2 separate regions of the Homo sapiens genome follow, and region 2 is linked to region 1. Evidence: promoter capture Hi-C in human tissues and cell types (Jung and others, 2019). All regions are on one chromosome and are shown on one strand. The core of a region is centred on a gene start or on the middle of the fragment in contact, and the rest is flanking DNA. Distances in the headings are between cores, read along the strand shown.

Region 1 (4,281 bases), core at 1,073-3,572:
AGGGGCATTAGGAGAACCAGCCTTCACAGCCGAGGGGTGACTGAGCTGGGCATGGGAAGAGAAGTGGAGCTTGGCAAGCGAGAGGGGGAGAAAGGACTTTCCCAGCAGACGGACCCTGAGGCATGAAAGGGCACCGGGTTCCTAAAAAGGAAGGAAGTGTTTGAGGCAGGAGCCCAGGGGTGCCTGTGGCTGCTTTGTTGTTTCCCAGAGGGCAGGTGTGGAAGGCAGGCAGGAGGCAAAGCCAGGAAGATGGTGGGAGCGGAATCCTGGGTAACCAGGCTGCTCAGGGGAAGGTTGGACTTTATGCTGGGAATGTGGGAAGCCAGTGGAGCGTTTCAGGTCAAGGAGGTCACCATTGATTTGGGGGAAAAAAACAGTGTGTGTAGGAAAGCTGTCATGGAGGAGGGGAGACCGGGGTGGAAGATGGGGAGCTGGGATGCAGGAGGGGGAGGTTAGGGTAGAGGAGAGGTAAGTTAGGATGGAGGAGGAGAAGGCTGGGGAGGAGGAGGAGGATGGGGTAGAGGAAGGGGAAGACAGGGTGGAGGAAGAGGACCTGGGGTGGAGGAGGGAAAGGTGGGGTGGAGGGGGGAGAGCTGGGGTGGAGGAGGGGAGCTGGAATGGAGGAGGGAGAGGTTAGGGTGGAGGAAGGGAGACTAAGGTGGAGGAGGGAGAGTTTGGGTGGAGGAGGGGATGCTGGGGTGGAGGAGGGGATGCTGGGGTGGAGGAGGGGTGGCTGGGGAGGAGGAGGGAAGCCTGGGGTGGAGGAGAGAAACTAGAGACCAAGACACTAGTCAGAAGACCAAGGTAAGGAGAGGAGAATCTACCAGAGAAGAGTCATGATGGAAAAGAATGCCAGAGATTCAATAAACAAACTGAATTTATCTCTTGACAATTACCCTCTGAGCCCCCAAGCCAGAGCTGTCCTGCCTGGGAGGAGACAGTCCTAGGATAAATCCTGGAAGATGATGTGTGGCTTTGAGATAGCCGACTTAGGCAGTTTCTTCTGCTTTTAGTAACTGGTATCTGCAATACAGGCTCTCAGGGTTCTTTCTGAGTGAGACAACATTCAGCCTGTCTGCTTTACAGATGATACCCACACCTCTGCTACCCGGAAGATGAGCACGAGCATCTTGAAACAGGTGGACCAAATGCGACCGTCTCGGGGTCCCCAGGACTGTCCAGGTTTTAGCATTGAAAGTCCTGGGCAAATCAGGACAGCGGTCACTGACTATACAAATTTGCTGAGCTCCAGGGGCTCAGGGAGAGCTCAGCTTGTCACAAAACATTCAACTAATTCTACTCAACAAGATAAGCCTAAGAAGATGGACACTACGCTGTGAAAAGTGGCTACGGGTGGGAGGAAGGACAAAGATGTGACCCGGGACCTAATCCTCTGTAGATCTCATCGGACAGTGATTATACCAGAAGCTCAGAACTAAATGAACCACTTTGTCCCCAAACACATCACCCCACAGGTGCATTCCACCTCCCACATGTCCATCCTGTGTGCACACCCTGTGCCCGGTCACTTTGTCTGGGAAAGCATTCGCAAGGGAAGCGAAAAGGTTGGGACTTCTGCCGCCAGCGCAGACAGCAGGAGATGCACAGATAGACACACTCAAATGAGGGCTCTCAGGGCATTGTAAATGGGGTGGCCCTTTATCCTACAAATCACCCCGTTTTCATGGTCTATGTGTACACACACACACACTTTAAAATAGTGCAGTTTGGGATCAGAAAAAAAAGGCAAAAATGGCAATGTCACATCTGGTCGTCTTACAACAATATCAGCAGGCTGTCTCAAATCTGCCACAGCCTGAACTGAACCTGCCTCTCCCGAGTAACAGGTTGTTTTCACCTCCCGCAGACCATCAGCGCTGGCTTCAGATTCTCCACTACAGGCAGGGCACACGAAAACCTAATTATTATAGCCATCAATATCGACACACACAGCAAAGAAGTCACTTAATAAAATCGAGCAGCACAAATCGACCCAAAGGGGTGCTCTCCACTCCTGCCCCTCTTGTCCTCGGACGCTTCGCAGATGCGGTCCCCCGCCCTCCTCCCAGGGTCCAGGTGAGGGGCCAGGGTTACCTTTTGGAGAAATGCCATCCTCGGCCTGTACTGCTGGCCTTGGTGTCGGATTGTCATCCTGGCCCCTGGATGGATTCACAGCCAGAGCACCAGTGGGAGACAAGAGGAGAAGCCCCCCAAGTTCGAAAGGCAGCCTGGCTCGCCCCAGCCCTGGGCGTCGACGGGGAGGCGGCTGGGCGGGGAGGGCGCGGGCCGGGCCCCCCTGACTCTCACTAGGCGCCGCTGACTTGGAAAGCAGCTGGAATCCGCGCCAGCCAATCCGCGAGCGGCGCCGCGGGCTCATTAGCATGCGCTGCGCGGGCGCCCACCTGCCGCCAGGGGGCGCTATCCGGCCCCCGCCGGGACCCCGCGGAGCAGCAGGTGAGACCCGCAGGGCAGGGCCCCGGGAGGAGAAGGAGGAGGAGGACCTGGCGGGAGGAGGAGGAGGACCTAGCGGGAGGAGGAGGAGGACCTGTCGAGAGCAGCGAGCCTTTTAACTTGGGGCGGAGTTATGCACAGAAGTGACACAAAGAGCCCTCACTAATACAGCGCGGTGGAAAATACGGACTTTCCCATCCCAGCTCTGCCACTAACCAGCCGGCAGCCTTGGGCAAGTTCCTTACAATCTCTAAGAATCAATGTCCTTCACTCAAAAGTAAAAATTGAAAAATGGGATCATAATATCGACCAGAAAAGGTTGCTATACCATTTTAATGAGGAGATGTGTAACACAGTGCTTGGCCCTCAATAAATGCTTAGAAAAAAAAATTAGAGGTGGCGATTTAATGACCCAATAGCAGAGGAATTGCTAAGATGTGGGTTTAAAAAGAGAGAGCAAAGAAGTGAAGAAGGAAGAGAGGAAGGTTGTAGTCCTCACCGGGCTAGCTGTCTGGATGAAGCGAATTATATTTTACTTCTCTGATTCTTAGTGTTTCGGTTAGTTGGTTGTTGGGTTTGTTGTTGTTTAACTTTTTTTTTGAGACAGGGTCTTGCTCTGTCACCCAGGCTGGAGTGCAGTGGCGTAATCATGGCTCATTGCAGCTACAACCTCCCAGGCTCAAACAATCCTCCCACCTCAGCCTCCCCAGTAGCTGGGGCTACAGGCACGTGCCACCACACCCCGCTAATTTTTACAAAAATTGTTTGTGGAGAGGGAGTTTCACAAACTCCTGGGCTCAATCGATCTACCCACCTCGGCCTCCCAAAGTGCTGGAATTACAGGAGTGAGCCACTGCAGCTGGCTGGTTTGCTTGTTTTAATAGACTTTATTTCTTAGAGCAGTTTTAGGTTCACAGCACAATTGAGCGGAAGGTATAGGGACACGTCATATATCCCCTCTCCCCACGCACGCACAGCGTCCCCCATGATCAACATCCTCCACTGGAGTGGCCCATTTGTTACAATTGATGAACCTACCTTGACAGCTCATTATGTTAGCGTTTTCATCTTGAGAAAAATGCAAGGATGAAGCCTCTAAGTTATTATCAAGAGCCTTTCTGCTTTGTTATATAAAGCACTTTCTCTTAAACATACTCGATGGTTATTGAGTGTAGCAGATAAAATGTTTAAGTTGGAAGAAAACAAGAAGGCCTTTACCTTAGGAAGGCACAGTCAACCAATGTCCCTTTAAAGCAGTGGTTCTTGGCTGGGTGTGATGGCTCACGCCTATAATTCCAGCACTTTGGGAGGCCCAAGCGGGTGAATCACTTGAAGTCAGGAGTTCAAGACCAGCCTGGCCAACATGGCAAAACCCTATCTCTATTAAAAATACAGAAATCAATCAGCATGGTGGAGCAACCTGTAATCCCAGCTACTCAGGAGGCTGAGGCACAAGAATCACTTGAACCCAGAGGCTGCAGTGAGCCAAGACTGAGCCACTGCATTCCAGCCTGGGTGACAGAGTGAGACTCTGTCTCAAAAAAAAAAAAAAGCAGTGGTTCTTATCCATTCTCTCGGGTGATATTTACCTGTAAGAATCTGATGAAAGCTATGGACACTCAGGAACACACACACATGCACATGTACACAACACTGACTGAAGTTTGCAAACAATTTCAAGAGGTTCATGCTTGGGCCTCTCTTGTGCCTTTTCAGGAATCCCTGATTCAGAGCCTCCAATTTAGAGGACGCTGGACCCTGCAGAGATCCATCCAAGCAGAAGACCAGAGATCCTGCCAAGCAAATTGAACCACTGAGAAGTATGCTCCT
Region 2 (4,281 bases), core at 875-3,374, 310 kb after region 1:
CCTCGGCCTCCCAAAGTGCTGGGATTACAGGTGTGGGCCATGGCACCTGGCCTATTTTGTTTTCTTAGCATACTGTTACTTGGCCAGAGCACTGACTTACCAATGGCCTGCTCCTCCCAGTGAATACTCTGTGAATACTCTATCACTCTCAGCTAATTAGTTAATGAGGTCTTAATGGGCCTGGGCTATAATTCAAATTATTGGGTCTAAGTCCTTAGGGTCCCGGCCCTGTAGCTGGTTAAGGGAAGGGCAACTTTGGGGCTTCGGGCTCTCTCTAGAAGGGTGGGCCTGAGGGCCTCAGGCCACTGGAAATTGTGGATTGGGATTGGAGCCCAGGGTTTCGGAGCCAGAGAAGCTGGACGTGGCCTGCTGAGCTGCAAAAGGGTAGCCTTGATGGAGCCTGACCTCAAGACCAGGCCTGTTTCTGGAAGTGACCCTAGATGCAGAGTCACTGCAGCATACAGCCCCCTTTTCCTGTCACCCCGTGGCCAGAATGTGGAACTGGTCTCCGGAGGAGGGCTCTGAGAATCCCTGGGTAGCTGGGAGCAGACTATGGTGAAGGGTGAGGCAGTCAGATGGGGCTGTAGTCAGGACTGAGGGCTCTTCTGGCCATCTGCAGCACCCGGCCTGTTACTGGGTCTGCAGGAACCATCCTCCATACATGCCTGCTTCCTCCTGAGGGACCTGACTTAGGGAGGTTGGCTCTGGGTCCTGACTCCCTGTGTCCTGTTTGCCCTCTGCTATCCCCAGAAGCCAGAGATCCAATCAGAGCACCTTCCACCATTTAGGGCCAGCCTGCCTGTCTGCTTTCCAAACCTCATGCTGCTCCAGGGCTGTCCAGGAAACCTTTCCTGCCACACTGGCCTTAATGTTCCCCTGCACCCCCTGTTCCCGGCCCCCAGCGAAAGGATCTTCCCAGACCACCCCTGGAATCCTAGCTCTGAGGTGATGGCACTGTTGATGAAAAAGCCAAACTCTGTTAAATATTCGAAGAGGTTTCTTCTGAGCCAAATGTGAGGGCCATGACCTGTGACATAGTCCTGGGAGGTCCTGAGAACATGTCCCCAAGGTGATTGGGGTACAGCTTGATTTTTATCCAAGTTACAGGCAGAAGTTACAGGCAAAGACATAAATTAATATATGTAAGGTATACATTGGTGGGGACAGGGTAAGGTGGATTAAAAGATTTCCTGATTGGCAATTGGCTGAAAAAGTTAAACTTTGCCTAAAGAGTTAAAAGTCAGCAGAAGAAAAGCTTGGGTTTAAGATAAGGTGGGTTGTGAAAGCCAAGGTTCATGTTACGTAGATGAAGCCTTCAAGAGAATAGATGGTAAATGTCTCTAAGGTGTCAGACTCTTAGTTAAATCTCCTCTAAATCAGGAAAAGGCCTAGAAAGGGAAGGGAATCTCTGCAGGACATAGATTTTCCCAACAAGAGATGGCTTTGCAGGGCCATTCCAAACTATGTCAAAAATATACTTGGGGGTAAGATACTTTGATTTCCTTAGGGCTTGTTATCTCCCATGTGATGTTAGACCAGTCAGGTTGGAGTTGGTGTCTTAATTGCTGAGAGTCTGTTCTGTCAGTCTTAGGAGTCTGTTTCAATGTTAATGCTGGTCAGTTGTGTCTAAGCTCCAAAAGGGAGAGGCTAGGATGAGGCATGGCCCACGCCCCACTTCCTGTCATGGCCTGAACTCAGTTTTCAGTTTTTTTGAAATCCCTTTGGCCAAGGGGGGCCCATTCAGGCAGTTGGGGAGCTTAGAATTTTATTTTTGGTTTACAGCACTCACTTAGGAATCGGGTTTTCCTAGGGCTGGGGTTGGCTTCCTCCTGGGGGCTGGTGGTGGAGTCAGGCCGCTTATCAGCCCTGGGACCTCAGGAACTTCCTTGACCTGGGTCAGCTGCCATTTCCTTATCTGTCAGGTGGAGACAATAAAACAGCACTCCTAGGGTCCTTAGGAGGAACATAAATTAGGCAATATATGTAAAGAGAACTGAGCCCATTTAACTTTTCTTGGTTTTGTTAACTTCTTTGTGCGGTGATTGTTTGAGAGCTGAGACAGACAGACATCACCTTTCCCGGCGTTCCCCTGATGCTCAGCCAGGAGTTGGCTAGAGATTTGTTTACGAGTGAATGTGCCTGCCTGGCCCAGGTCTGTCCAAGTTGCTGTGGTGGGGCCAAGCCAGTCAGCAGCCCCCTCAGGCTCAGGCTAAAGTCCCCACCCCACCCACCCCACCCCACCCCACCCCACCCACTCCCAGGAGGAAGCTGGCAGCCCTGAGGGATTTAACCACTCACTGACTTCAACTCTTCCTGCATACTCATTTAGGCGATGACATTCTTGGTCTGTAGGTTTAGGTGGCCACATCCACTGGGATGACAGATGCCAGGTACAACATATCAGGTACAGGCACATATCAGGCCCCGTGACAGGCATTTTACACATTCTCCTTCTGAGAGGTCTGTGCATGTCTCCCTGGTTAGTGGCAAACTGCGATGAGACCTCATGGTCATCCCGGTTAGACACGTCCCTGTCTGTGCTGCTCAAGCCAGACCCTCGAAGCCCAAATGAGGAGCAGAAGTGTAGCAAGGGAGCCCTCCCCTTTTGAAGCCGTTCCAGTGGTACTTTTTACTGCCGAGCTGGCAGATGTTGGACTGGGACAGGAGTGAGGGGTGGGGGCAGGGTGTTGCAGGACCCAGCCCCTGAATGTGATGTGTGAGCCTGTGAGCCCCTGCTTCCTGGTCCCAGTGGGTTCCTGCCACCTTCAGCTGCAGCCTCCCCCTCGAACCTGCAGCTCCGTATCTGAATCAGCCTGTCATTCCCTGCCTACAGGTTTCGATCCTACAGGGCCTTGGCTTTCTGGGCAGCATTTGATGTGAAGCGCCCTTACCACCTACTCCTTGGGGTGGACCCACCCCTGGCACCCAGGACTCCTTGCCTCCCAATGACTGAGCCCCCTGGGCTTTCCTTCCTTGTTTCTTTCCTTCAAATCTATTATCAGTTTTTACTTTTGTGTTCTTCAAAGGCCTTTTTGGTTGCAGTTTGAGTAAGAGAGGCTGACCTCCTGCTGCTTGCTGGGAATGGACTCTGGCTGGGGGGAAGTTCCCTGCCCATTCATCTGGCTGCCATCTGTCTCTTCAGGTGTCATGTGATTCTCTGAGGGAGCAGCTGCGTGAGTGGAGATGCTTTCAGTGGTGGAGAATGGACTGGACCCCCAGGCTGCCATCCCGGTAGGTGGGTGAGGGAGGATCAAGGGCGGGGAAGGGCTGCAGGGGACAGTTGTATCATCGGCTTGGCTCACTTCGAAATGAATGGGCACTGTCCTGCAAGAGAGACCAGGTTGAGAAAAAGTTATAGCACAAGCAGGCTCTGAGGAGACCCTGTCTTTTCTAGATCACCTTATTGGTGATAAGATGGAGATTTATGAAAAGCAGTGGGAATTTAAGATCAGTAACCTGAAGACCAAGGATTTCCATTCAGCCCTTCAGCCCTCTGCCCTTAGGCCATGATTTGGTCACAGTCTGGCCAAAGCACTGAATGGGTGGGAAACAGATATTCCCAGGCACTGGTTTGTTGTTTCAGTAATGGGGGTAAATTGGTAACTTACATGTATCTGAACACTTACCATTTTCTGGGATATTCTAAATGTAATTATTTGTGAGCAGTTCACTGGAGCCCCCTAGGACCTTTTCTTGGACAGCCCTTTGCACCCTCCTGGGCTATCTTGGGTACTCCAGATAGAGCTCTCTGTTCTCTTGGAGAGGTAGGAAGTCAGGTAGCTTTGGGGCTGGTGCCTTAGCAGCATCCTGAGATGGCTTTCGGGGAGAAGCCAGGATTTCCTTTCCTCCCCACTGCTGCTTCCCAGCTCAGAGAACTCTCTGCTTGAAAGAAACTGTAGCTCTCAGAGACGTGCCTTTCCCCGTCCTGGCCACAGGAGAGTCCAGCTCCACCTGTTTCCCAGCTGGCTTTCATGCAGAGGCTCTTCCCTCCCCTCTGCACCCCCACTCTCCCACCCCCAGTGCCTGCCGAATCCCACCCCAGGACCCTCCAGAGCTAGGGCAGAAGCCTGGCCAACCCAGCCTTCTAACAACAGCTGCACAAACTGACTCCATGAGGGTATGCCTTTCTTGAGGGTATGCCTTATTTCTCCCTGTATACCCTAACCCAACACCTAGTAGGTGCTCAATTGAACGAAGTATGTATGTACTTTTTAAATATAATATACAAATAACATCTTGCTTTTAAAAGAACATTTAAAATTAGACTATTTCAAGATTAAA

The links. Contacts are between HindIII fragments. The study calls those that stand out against the background at their distance.
Region 2: a fragment that was not itself captured here is called in contact with the fragment with the promoter of RGS9 in region 1 in 1 of the 25 tissues and cell types used here (hippocampus).

The regions. Positions count from the first base shown.
Region 1 is chr17:65,135,411-65,139,691 of GRCh38, reverse strand. It overlaps RGS9 (regulator of G protein signaling 9), which reads right to left and starts at 2,322. Exons shown (of 19, transcript NM_003835.4): 1 at 2,095-2,322. The coding sequence starts at 2,151. RefSeq lists a silencer at 2,133-2,632. The HindIII fragment of the contact is 16,688 bases long and covers 1-4,281 here.
Region 2 is chr17:64,828,111-64,832,391 of GRCh38, reverse strand. It overlaps the pseudogene PLEKHM1P1. Among named protein-coding and RNA genes, the nearest start is that of MIR4315-2, 8.1 kb to the right of the region's middle. The HindIII fragment of the contact is 4,114 bases long and covers 68-4,181 here.